2 separate regions of the Homo sapiens genome follow, and region 1 is linked to region 2. Evidence: promoter capture Hi-C in 16 types of primary human blood cells and fetal thymus (Javierre and others, 2016). All regions are on one chromosome and are shown on one strand. The core of a region is centred on a gene start or on the middle of the fragment in contact, and the rest is flanking DNA. Distances in the headings are between cores, read along the strand shown.

What was found. The method cuts DNA at HindIII sites, captures the fragments that hold promoters and counts their contacts. A CHiCAGO score of 5 or more calls a contact.
Region 1: a contact is called between a fragment that was not itself captured here and the fragment with the promoter of MRPL17 in region 2, in 2 of 17 cell types (non-activated CD4 T cells and activated CD4 T cells). The highest score is 5.5, in non-activated CD4 T cells.

Annotation. Positions count from the first base shown.
Region 1 is chr11:6,625,184-6,628,926 of GRCh38, reverse strand. It overlaps DCHS1 (dachsous cadherin-related 1), which reads left to right. Exons shown (of 21, transcript NM_003737.4): 13 at 97-306; 14 at 1,260-2,138; 15 at 2,262-2,375; 16 at 2,547-2,758; 17 at 2,853-3,007; 18 at 3,200-3,330; 19 at 3,446-3,729. Among named protein-coding and RNA genes, the nearest start is that of TPP1, 7.6 kb to the right of the region's middle. RefSeq lists an enhancer at 1,007-1,096. The HindIII fragment of the contact is 6,198 bases long and covers 1-3,743 here.
Region 2 is chr11:6,682,090-6,689,271 of GRCh38, reverse strand. It overlaps MRPL17 (mitochondrial ribosomal protein L17), which reads left to right and starts at 5,932. Exons shown (of 3, transcript NM_022061.4): 1 at 5,932-6,149; 2 at 6,457-6,525; 3 at 6,870-7,182. The coding sequence starts at 5,976. The coding sequence ends at 7,154. It also overlaps the pseudogene RPL21P94. RefSeq lists enhancers at 5,772-6,211, 5,628-6,390. The HindIII fragment of the contact is 17,410 bases long and covers 760-7,182 here.

The DNA.
Region 1 (3,743 bases), core at 1,244-3,743, 57 kb after region 2:
TGTGTGCACCTAGTGAACATGTATGAACACTGTGTGGTGTGGATTTCTCCATGTGGTGAGGGCAGACTAGACCTCATTGATTTTGCTTCCCCACAGTGTATGCCCAGGACAGGGGCTCACCTCCTCAGTTAACGCATGTCACTGTTCGAGTGGCTGTGGAGGATGAGAATGACCATGCACCAACCTTTGGGAGTGCCCATCTCTCTCTGGAGGTGCCTGAGGGCCAGGACCCCCAGACCCTTACCATGCTTCGGGCCTCTGATCCAGATGTGGGAGCCAATGGGCAGTTGCAGTACCGCATCCTAGGTGAGAACCTTCCCACTCCCACTTAATTCAGCACCCACTTGCCTGGTTCTTGCTCCTTCTTGGCTGCTGTCAGCCTCAGTGCATGTGTCTGGGTCTCCTTTTCCCTCTTGATGTCGTCCACCTTTTCTTTCATGCTTATACCCAGTGTAGCTAGGTATCTCATTCCATGCTCTTTATCTCCCTGTGTGTCTCTGTTTCTATCTTCCTATTTCTTTTCTTTCTCATTTGTCTCTCCCTGTAGAGCAGTCGTTCTCAAATTTTTGGTCTCAAAAACCCTTAACACTCTTAATTTTTGAGAACCCTAAGGAGTTTTTATGTGGATTATATCAGTATTTACTGTATTAGATAATAAAACTGAGATGATGTTAAAATATGATTGTGAAACAAGCCAATGAAGTATACAGCTTGCCAGTATTTCTGTGTAAGCACAAGGAAATACTAAGATTTCAAGTAACAATTTGTTGGAAAGTAGTTAATTTCAGAGATTAAAGCAGGTATAATTGAAGATAGCCAGAACAAACTGAATCTCTGAAGACACACAGATTCATGCTCTAAACTTTCTGTCTAGAATATTCTAGAACACACAGGAATACATAAGCACACATTCCCTTAACCAAGACATTATATCATCACGTCATAGAGCATCTGTAAATTCTACTGTACATCTGTGAGATGAGAATAAAAAGGCCATATAATGGCTTAGTAGTGCTATGAAATAATTTTGATCTTATGCACATGAAAAGGACTTGGGGGACTCCCGGGGTTCCCAGACCACACACAAATGATACCAGCTGCTTTATAGTATCTTCTTTTACTTTCTGTTTCTGTTTTTCTTCCTTTCTCTCATAAGGTTCACTTGCTTTTGTGCACATGCTCACTCTCTCCTGTTGTCTGTAAATCACCCCCATCCCCACGACACATGTATATTTATATGTGCATGCCCTTCTCTGCAGATGGGGACCCATCAGGAGCCTTTGTCCTAGACCTTGCTTCTGGAGAGTTTGGCACCATGCGGCCACTAGACAGAGAAGTGGAGCCAGCTTTCCAGCTGAGGATAGAGGCCCGGGATGGAGGCCAGCCAGCTCTCAGTGCCACGCTGCTTTTGACAGTGACAGTGCTGGATGCCAATGACCATGCTCCAGCCTTTCCTGTGCCTGCCTACTCGGTGGAGGTGCCGGAGGATGTGCCTGCAGGGACCCTGCTGCTGCAGCTACAGGCTCATGACCCTGATGCTGGAGCTAATGGCCATGTGACCTACTACCTGGGCGCCGGTACAGCAGGAGCCTTCCTGCTGGAGCCCAGCTCTGGAGAACTGCGCACAGCTGCAGCCTTGGACAGAGAACAGTGTCCCAGCTACACCTTTTCTGTGAGTGCAGTGGATGGTGCAGCTGCTGGGCCCCTAAGCACCACAGTGTCTGTCACCATCACGGTGCGCGATGTCAATGACCATGCACCCACCTTCCCCACCAGTCCTCTGCGCCTACGTCTGCCCCGCCCAGGCCCCAGCTTCAGTACCCCAACCCTGGCTCTGGCCACACTGAGAGCTGAAGATCGTGATGCTGGTGCCAATGCTTCCATTCTGTACCGGCTGGCAGGCACACCACCTCCTGGCACTACTGTGGACTCTTACACTGGTGAAATCCGCGTGGCCCGCTCTCCTGTAGCTCTAGGCCCCCGAGATCGTGTCCTCTTCATTGTGGCCACTGATCTTGGCCGTCCAGCTCGCTCTGCCACTGGTGTGATCATTGTTGGACTGCAGGGGGAAGCTGAGCGTGGACCCCGCTTTCCCCGGGCTAGCAGTGAGGCTACGATTCGTGAGAATGCGCCCCCAGGTGGGTCCCCAGCCATTTCTTCCAGATTCAGACTCCCAAATGGGCTGGGGTTGTGCTTTGAAAATGTCCCCCAAACTCTCCCAGTCTCGCGCTCACAGTCCAACAATACCGTTCTTTCTGCAGGGACTCCTATTGTCTCCCCCAGGGCCGTCCATGCAGGAGGCACAAATGGACCCATCACCTACAGCATTCTCAGTGGGAATGAGAAAGGGACATTCTCCATCCAGCCTAGTACAGGTAAGAAATAGGAGCAGGGGCTCTGTGCAGGACAGGCTACTGGGGAAGCAGGTTCTTTGCATCAGAGGAGCCTTTGATGGGTGAAGGGCTGTCCTTGAGTAAGGGGTCTTAGAGAAGGAGGCTCCAGGGCAAGCAAAGGGGGCTATCACTGATGCATTCTATCTCGCCCAGGTGCCATCACAGTTCGCTCAGCAGAGGGGCTAGACTTCGAGGTGAGTCCACGGCTGCGACTGGTGCTGCAGGCAGAGAGTGGAGGAGCCTTTGCCTTCACTGTGCTGACCCTGACCCTGCAAGATGCCAACGACAATGCTCCCCGTTTCCTGCGGCCCCATTATGTGGCCTTCCTTCCTGAGTCCCGGCCCTTGGAGGGGCCCCTGCTGCAGGTGCGGGGTGTGATGGAAAGATTGGGCGGGGGAGCAGGGCTAGTCAGACTTGTCTGTGGCCAGACCAGTCCCAGCAGCCTCCTACCCTCACCAGGTGGAGGCGGATGACCTGGATCAAGGCTCTGGAGGACAGATTTCCTACAGTCTGGCTGCATCCCAGCCGGCACGTGGATTGTTCCACGTAGACCCAACCACAGGCACTATCACTACCACAGCCATCCTGGACCGTGAGATCTGGGCTGAAACACGGTGAGGCCTGGCCCTGTGGACCCAAGACCCCATCTTGGGCCTGTCCAGTTTCAAGCCCTGCCTTGAACTCATCTGGTCCCTTGGCCACATCCTGAATTCCCCAGCCCTAAGCTCTGTCCTGAGTCCTCCTGGCCCTGCCCAGAGTTCCCCCTTATTGCCATGTCCCACCCGATGATTGTGCTTTGTGTCCAGGTTGGTGCTGATGGCCACAGACAGAGGGAGCCCAGCCCTGGTGGGCTCAGCTACCTTGACGGTGATGGTCATCGACACCAATGACAATCGCCCCACCATCCCCCAACCCTGGGAGCTCCGAGTGTCAGAAGGTGAGGCTGGGTAAAGTGGGTGGCATAAAGGGTGGCAGAGAGACATTTTTCTCCACCCTGCAGCTCAAGGTGGGGCTGTGTCCATTGCCAAACACACTAGTCTCATGTATTCCAGATGCGTTATTGGGCTCAGAGATTGCACAGGTAACAGGGAATGATGTGGACTCAGGACCCGTGCTGTGGTATGTGCTAAGCCCATCTGGGCCCCAGGATCCCTTCAGTGTTGGCCGCTATGGAGGCCGTGTCTCCCTCACGGGGCCCCTGGACTTTGAGCAGTGTGACCGCTACCAGCTGCAGCTGCTGGCACATGATGGGCCTCATGAGGGCCGTGCCAACCTCACAGTGCTTGTGGAGGATGTCAATGACAATGCACCTGCCTTCTCACAGAGCCTCTACCAGGTATTGACACCCAT
Region 2 (7,182 bases), core at 4,683-7,182:
GAAAACAGAGCTTTATCCCAGAATAGGGTCTGTGGTGCCTCCTCTGCTTTTCCCCAGGAGTCCCAGGCTGTTAGAATTTATCTTAAATTCTCTCATGTGGGCATCAAGAGTGGCAAGAAGACAAAATGGAAAAGAACAATTCTGTCTACCAAGGAAAAAAAACTTTTTTCAGGAAAACACAATTCAAGAAGAGGAAAAAGATAAAGTCCTCTTAAATACATATAGCTTGGATATTTCTTTTTAATTAAGCTGATTTTAACCATAGAGATCTTTTTTAAAAAAATAAATAAATCCTTTAAAATTTCTTATTACCAGACTCTAGCCAGGACAGCCGATATTTCTGGCTTTTGATTTCTACCACAGGTAACTTTCTACATGAAATTAATAAGTTTTAGCTAAGGTTATAACTTAACCATGGACATATAAGGTGTCTCAAAGAGATGATAAGCAGTTTCTCTTTTTTTTTTTTTTTTTTTTTTTTTTGGCAAGATTTACAATCTCCCCAAGGGTAGTTTACCAAGGGTAGTTTAGAGAAAGGAAAATCCAAGACAGGAAATCAGAAGCTATCCATGGGGGAAAAACCCTCAATAAATAGCAAAATTACATAAATAACAAACCAGAAAGGAAACTTTCCAGAAGCCAAGAATTGAACCCAGGCCACCACTGTCAAAAAAAAAAGCTTCAGCTACTGAGCTACACAGCATTGAGCAGTTTCTATTGCTCTTCCCAGAAGAAGTCTAGAGCAGCCAATTTCAAGCTTGCAAAGGCTCTTAACTCCTCAAGATAATTTTTAGGGCTAACTATGACATGAACCCCAAAATTCCTGTCCTCTGGATGGCAGAAACCAAGAGACAATATCCTCACATGGTCACAAGGTTAAGCTCTTAAGGACACTAAACAAGACAGAGAAATTTCATCCGGTATTGGTTTCAGGGACCCTCAACAAAGTTTGTTACTGACCAGTCTGCTAGGCTGGCTTGAAAAGCAGGCTTACTGGGGTCCTAAGCCCACGTTCTATCCTGTGATACCCCTCTCTCCATTACAGAAAGACAAATTCTTAGCACAAAGTCAACCAGATTTGCTACAGCCTGACTAGTCTCGCAAATCCTTTTTTCTATTAATCAAACCCTTGCAGAGAAGGCAAATAGTGATGTTTACCATTTATACACACACACACACACACGTGCACACACACACACACACGTGCACACACACACACACACAGATGGGGAGGTACAGAAACCCAGCTGGTAAGAATTTCTTACCCTTTTTGCCAGCATACCAGGTTTCCAGGTTCCCTTTCTCTGCAGCTTCTGGAAGAACAGAGCAGCTTTTGATGACCCTGCTAGTTGTGCCATAGCTGTGGAGGTCAAGCCACTTTACAAAAGAAAATCACCCTTTTCTCTCTTATGGAACCATAAGCAAAAGATTCTCAATTTTGCAAGATGCTGCCCAAGAGGCTGCATGGGGAAACAAACTAACATTTTCCATCCCTGTAAAAGCAAAATATACATAACAAAACAGACACTAGTCATCTCATTCACCACCCAGTATTGACCTGGCAAGGCTCAAACTTTCTCCCATTGGTCCCCATTGTCTTTGATCCACTCCAGGTGGGGAGGAATGACCTCCAACCAGTAATTTGATGGGTGGTCTCTGGGCAAGACGAAGAGCAGATAGTCGTCCTGAGCCAGGCCTGTTGAGCTTTCTTTGGGACTCACCGAATGTGACCAGACAAATAAGGAGGGTTCTCTGAGTTAGGCCTGCTGGACTTTCATCAGCAAGTCCTTCTGAGGTCCCCTCCACATATATAAACACATACAAAGACAAGACAGACAGAAGGGCTTCCAAATCAGATCCCTAACCAAGAACTCCAAGAGTATCCCTTCCAAACTATCCTCCTGTTCTCTGTCTGAGAAATCTCCCCAAAATCTTCCTGATTGAGAAGTCTCCCAAACCAAGACTCTTCCTACTAATTAGAGAGAGCCAACCGAGAATCTCAAATGAACCAAACTGAGAAAGATGCCCCTCAGTGGGGCTACAGACCGACACCCCACCATGGGGCAACAGAAAAACCAAGACCCCCTCCCCAAAGGAATCAAACCAATCGGGAAAAGGAAGGAGGCGTTGGCCGTGCCTAGGATATTCACCAATCCAGACACACTGTAATGAGGCTACAGCTACAGACACTCCATGACTGGGCTACAGACAGACACCTTGTGATAGGGCTACAGTTATAGGACATCTCCTCAAGACTATTTCTCTATTGCAATTAAATCCATGCACACTGGGTCACCAGTGCCCCTTCAGCAGAGACAATACCAGAGTCAGCCCCCAGTCCAAAATAACTAGGCAGCTGCTTGAGCTGGCATCTGAATCCATCACCAGAGGGGGACTACCAAACCATGGGCAGGTAGCCACATGGGCAATCCTGGACAAGCCCCCAGATTTGTAACCACCCAATGAGTTCACCTTGCCCACTGCCTAGACAGAGCCGATTTAACAAGACAGGGAAATTGCGATAGAGAAAGAGTAACTCACACAGAGCCAGCTGTGCAGGAGACCAGAGTTTTATTTATATTTATAGATATAAATTCATAAGAGTTTAATTAGCTCTCAGGCTCACTTCAGGTACATTTCATGACTCCAACTCCTGTTGTACAAAATATCCCTGCTTTTAAACAGTAGATTTAAAACAAACAACCTTGGTTTTCTGGGACTTTTCTTTTATGAGTATTTTTTTATTAATGTAAAGTTTCAAAGAAGGCTAATCAAACACAAAAATATCTGCAAAGAGCCACAATAAGCCTTGAACAACATACAGTCAGTAAAACATCAAGGTTTAAATTGTTGCTTTAACTTCCTTTTGGCTGGAAGCTCCATATTCTGGTAATTCACCAAAATGGCCAACACAAGGAAAACAGGAGAGGCACCCAGTGTATGTTTTCTAGGCCTTTTAGAAAACATGGAGTTGGCCACATGCATGGGAGTCTATAAAAAAGGTGATACTGTAGACATCAAGGGAATGGGTATGGTTCAAAAAGGAATGCCTCACAAGTGTTACCATGGCAAAAACTGGAAGAGTCTATAATGTTACTCAGCATGCTGTTAGCATTGCTGTAGGGAAAAAAAAAAAAAAAAGTTAAGGGCTAGATTCTTGCCAAAAGAATTAATGTGCATATGGAGCACATTAAACACTCTAAGGGAAAAGGTAGTCTCCTGAAATGCATGAAAGAAAATGATCAGAAAAAGAAGAGAGCCAAAGAGAAAGGTACCTGGATTCAGCTGACAGGCCAGCCTGCTGCACCAAGAGAAGCACACTTGGTGAGAACCAATGGAGAGGAGCCAGAGCTACTGGAACCTATTCCCTATGAATTCATGACATAATAGGTGCAAATAATACCACTAATAAAAGACCCTTGGACTGTAAAAAAAAATTGTTCCGTTAATATCAGCCCACAGAAATTGCAGAGAAAGCCAGTAGTAATGCTGCAAAAACAAAATGTAAGGAAATTGACATATAAAAAAGAATCAAATTTTGAAGACTACCAGAAGAGACAAGAGATGACGGTCTTGTATTGCCAGAAAAAGTCAAAAGGACAGTGTTTGATGCTACAATTGTTTTTACCAAGTGTAAGCATTTTCTAAGACAATGGATCAATGTTTCATTTCACCTAATTTTTGCTGAAGAAGAACCTCTTCACAAGTTTTTACCAATAGAAATTTATGATAAATTTTCTGGTGGGCCGGGCACAGTGGCTCACACCTGTAATCCCAGCACTTTGGGAGGCTGAGGCGGGCAGATCACCTGAGGTCAGGAGTTCGAGACCAGCCCGGCCAACATGGTGAAACCCCGTCTCTACTAAAAATACAAAAAAAATTAGCCAGGCATGGTGGTGGGCGCCTGTAATCCCAGTTACTTGTGAGGCTGAGGCATGAGAATCGCTTGAACCCAGGAGGTGGAGGTTGCAGTGAGCCGAGACCGCACCATTGCACTCCAGCCTGGGCAACAAGAAAGAAACTCCGTCTCAAAAAAATATATATATATCCTGGTGAAAACATCTTAGTGAAATTTTTCAACTGCAAAGACAATTGAAAACTACAAGAATTGCTCCCAAAGAAACAAAACATGAATGGTAATTGTAATTTCTGTAATTTATTGTAAATTTCTTTAATTGTGAAGTGTGATTTGTATAAATCTGTCAATGTATTTATATGTTCATGACTTTTCCTATTTGCATATTTGTTCCTTCATATTAAAGAAACTTTTCAAAATTAAAATTAGCAAAGAAGTGTTCTTTGGTCACCTATAAGCTGACAAAGTGACAAATCTATACGTCTACTGAATATGTACATGTAAAGAGGAGTGAATTCATTTCCTAAGACTGCTGTAACAAACTATCACAAACTGTGGAACTTAAAACAACAGAAATTTATTGTTTTGTGGCTCTGGAGGCTAGAAGTAAGAAAGCGATGTGTTAGCAGCAGGGTCATGCTCTCTGACAGATCTGAAAAAGAATGCGTTTTATACCTTTCCCTTGGCTTCAGGTGTGCTCCAGCAATCCTTGGTGTTCATTCATTGATTTGCAACTGCTTGACTCCATAATCTCTGCTTTCAAGGTCACATGGCTTTCTGCCTGTATGTCTCTGTCTTTACCTGGTCAGCATCACCCTGTGTCCATCTCTCTCTCTTCATGCGCATTTTTTTTTTTTTTTTTTTTGAGATAGAGCCTCACTCTGTCGCCCAGTCTAGAGTGCAGTGCCCGATCTCAGCTCACTGCAACCTCCACCTCCCGGGTTCAAGCTATTCTCCTGCCTCAGCCTCCCGAGTAGCTAGAATTACAGGCATGAGCCACCACGCCCGGCTAATTTTTGTGTTTTTAGTAGAGACGGGGTTTCGCCATGTTGGCCAGGCTGGTCTCGAATTCCTGACCTCAGGTGATCCGCCCGCCTCGGCCTCCCAAAGTGCTGGAATTACAGGAGTGAGCCACCGTGCCCGGCCTGCATATATGTATGTACGTATATATGTGTCTATCTATCTAGCTAGCTAGACACTAGGCATTTTGGATTAGGCGCCCACCTATGCCTGCATGACTTCATCTTAACAAATGACATCTGCAATGACCCTATTTCCACATAAGGTCACATTCTGAGTTACTGCAGGTTAGGACTTAACATAGCTTTTTGGGGACGGGAAGAATCATGGGGAAGACACAATTCAACCCATAACAAGGAATAATTTTGACAGTCATTGCCAATTTGCAGATGTTAAGGCTCAAAAACAAACTATAATATTATTGTTCATTAACACATAAATGTGTAGGTATGTTTTTTCCCCTTAAAAAGACACACTGGTGTAATTAAAAACAATCTACTACTTTTCCCTTTAGTGCTGTAATTTTTTTAACTGGAGTGATTACTTCAATAAAAGAAAAATTTCACTATCTGCGTTTCTTTTCCGGGCATCGTTATTATCCATCTCACCATTACTACTGAAAATCACTGTGTTAAAAACAATGCGTACAGGTGTCAACCAGGCCAGCTGGCCACTGCTGGACCCGGTAGGGCCGTCAGCCCGCAGGACCCCGAACCCTCCGGGTGCCTTTCTCTTCAGACGCTCTCTTTCCCAGGAGTCTCCGCGGCGGAGCGCCCCATCGCCCTAAATGCCACTGGCTGACGCAGCCCCAAAAAAAACCCGATGGCCCGCTTATCCCACACTAGGGGGCGCCTGGTTCTTCGGCCGCCACAGAGCGCTCTGGATGCCTGAAGCCCGCCCAGCTCGCCGCCTCTGGAAAAGCTCAACACCGTTTCTCCGCCCTTCCCGAGATTGCCAACGAGGCAGGCTCTGATGCGCATGCGCAAACACGTTCACCACGCTCCGAGCTAAGGCGCATGCGTTCCCTGAAATTGCCGCCACCGGCTCTACCTTCCAGTTTCCAGTTCCGGCCTCCAAGGGGCGGGCAGAAGTTGGAAACATGCGGCTGTCGGTCGCTGCAGCGATCTCCCATGGCCGCGTATTTCGCCGTATGGGCCTCGGTCCCGAGTCCCGCATCCATCTGTTGCGGAACTTGCTCACAGGGCTGGTGCGGCACGAACGCATCGAGGCACCATGGGCGCGTGTGGACGAAATGAGGGGCTACGCGGAGAAGGTGAGGAGCGCGGCCCTCTTGTCCACTCTGCGGGTCTGGTCTGAGGGGGCGGAGCCGGCTGCAAGTGGAAAGGGACCGGGACCAACCTGGTAAACCATTCCCCAAGTCTGAGTCCCCCAGAACCTTGGGCTGAACCCGCCCCTCCATCGCCTCTAATGGAAGACTGGTTAGGGCTGCGGAGTTAGGGGTGGCGTAGATTGGAGATGCTTGGCTAGTGGAAAGAATGGATTGCCTTCCGGCATTAGAGAAATTAGATTGGCACCTTGTTTTCTTGCTCGGTTGGATCCGTGATGTTATGTCCTCACAGCTCATCGACTATGGGAAGCTGGGAGACACTAACGAACGAGCCATGCGCATGGCTGACTTCTGGCTCACAGTGAGTGCGACCTATCTGCCTTCAAAATCCCACCCTTTGCTCCCTGGGGGTGGGGGTTGGAAAAAGGAGAACTATGCAGAATTAAACTTGGGTACTCACTTATGGGCCAGTGCTGCTAACTAAATTAGAAACTGTGTCTTAAGTTAGTTGAAGTCGATGTGAATATACCTCTGCACAACTGCCTATAAACGACCCCTTTGTGTAACACTGACTATGCCAGATTGGCGAGGGGAGGGGGAGGTCTTTCTATGTGTGGATGGACCTTACCTTTGGGAATGGTGTAAAGTTAAATGCCTCTGCAGTTTTGCCTGACTCTGCTGTCTCTTGGATAATTCTCCCTCTAGGAGAAGGATTTGATCCCAAAGCTGTTTCAAGTACTGGCCCCTCGGTACAAAGATCAAACTGGGGGCTACACAAGAATGCTGCAGATCCCAAATCGGAGTTTGGATCGGGCCAAGATGGCAGTGATCGAGTATAAAGGGAATTGCCTCCCACCCCTGCCTCTGCCTCGCAGAGACAGCCACCTTACACTCCTAAACCAGCTGCTGCAGGGTTTGCGGCAGGACCTCAGGCAAAGCCAGGAAGCAAGCAACCACAGCTCCCACACAGCTCAAACACCAGGGATTTAACTGGATCTGAAGAGTCTGCAGCCCTTAA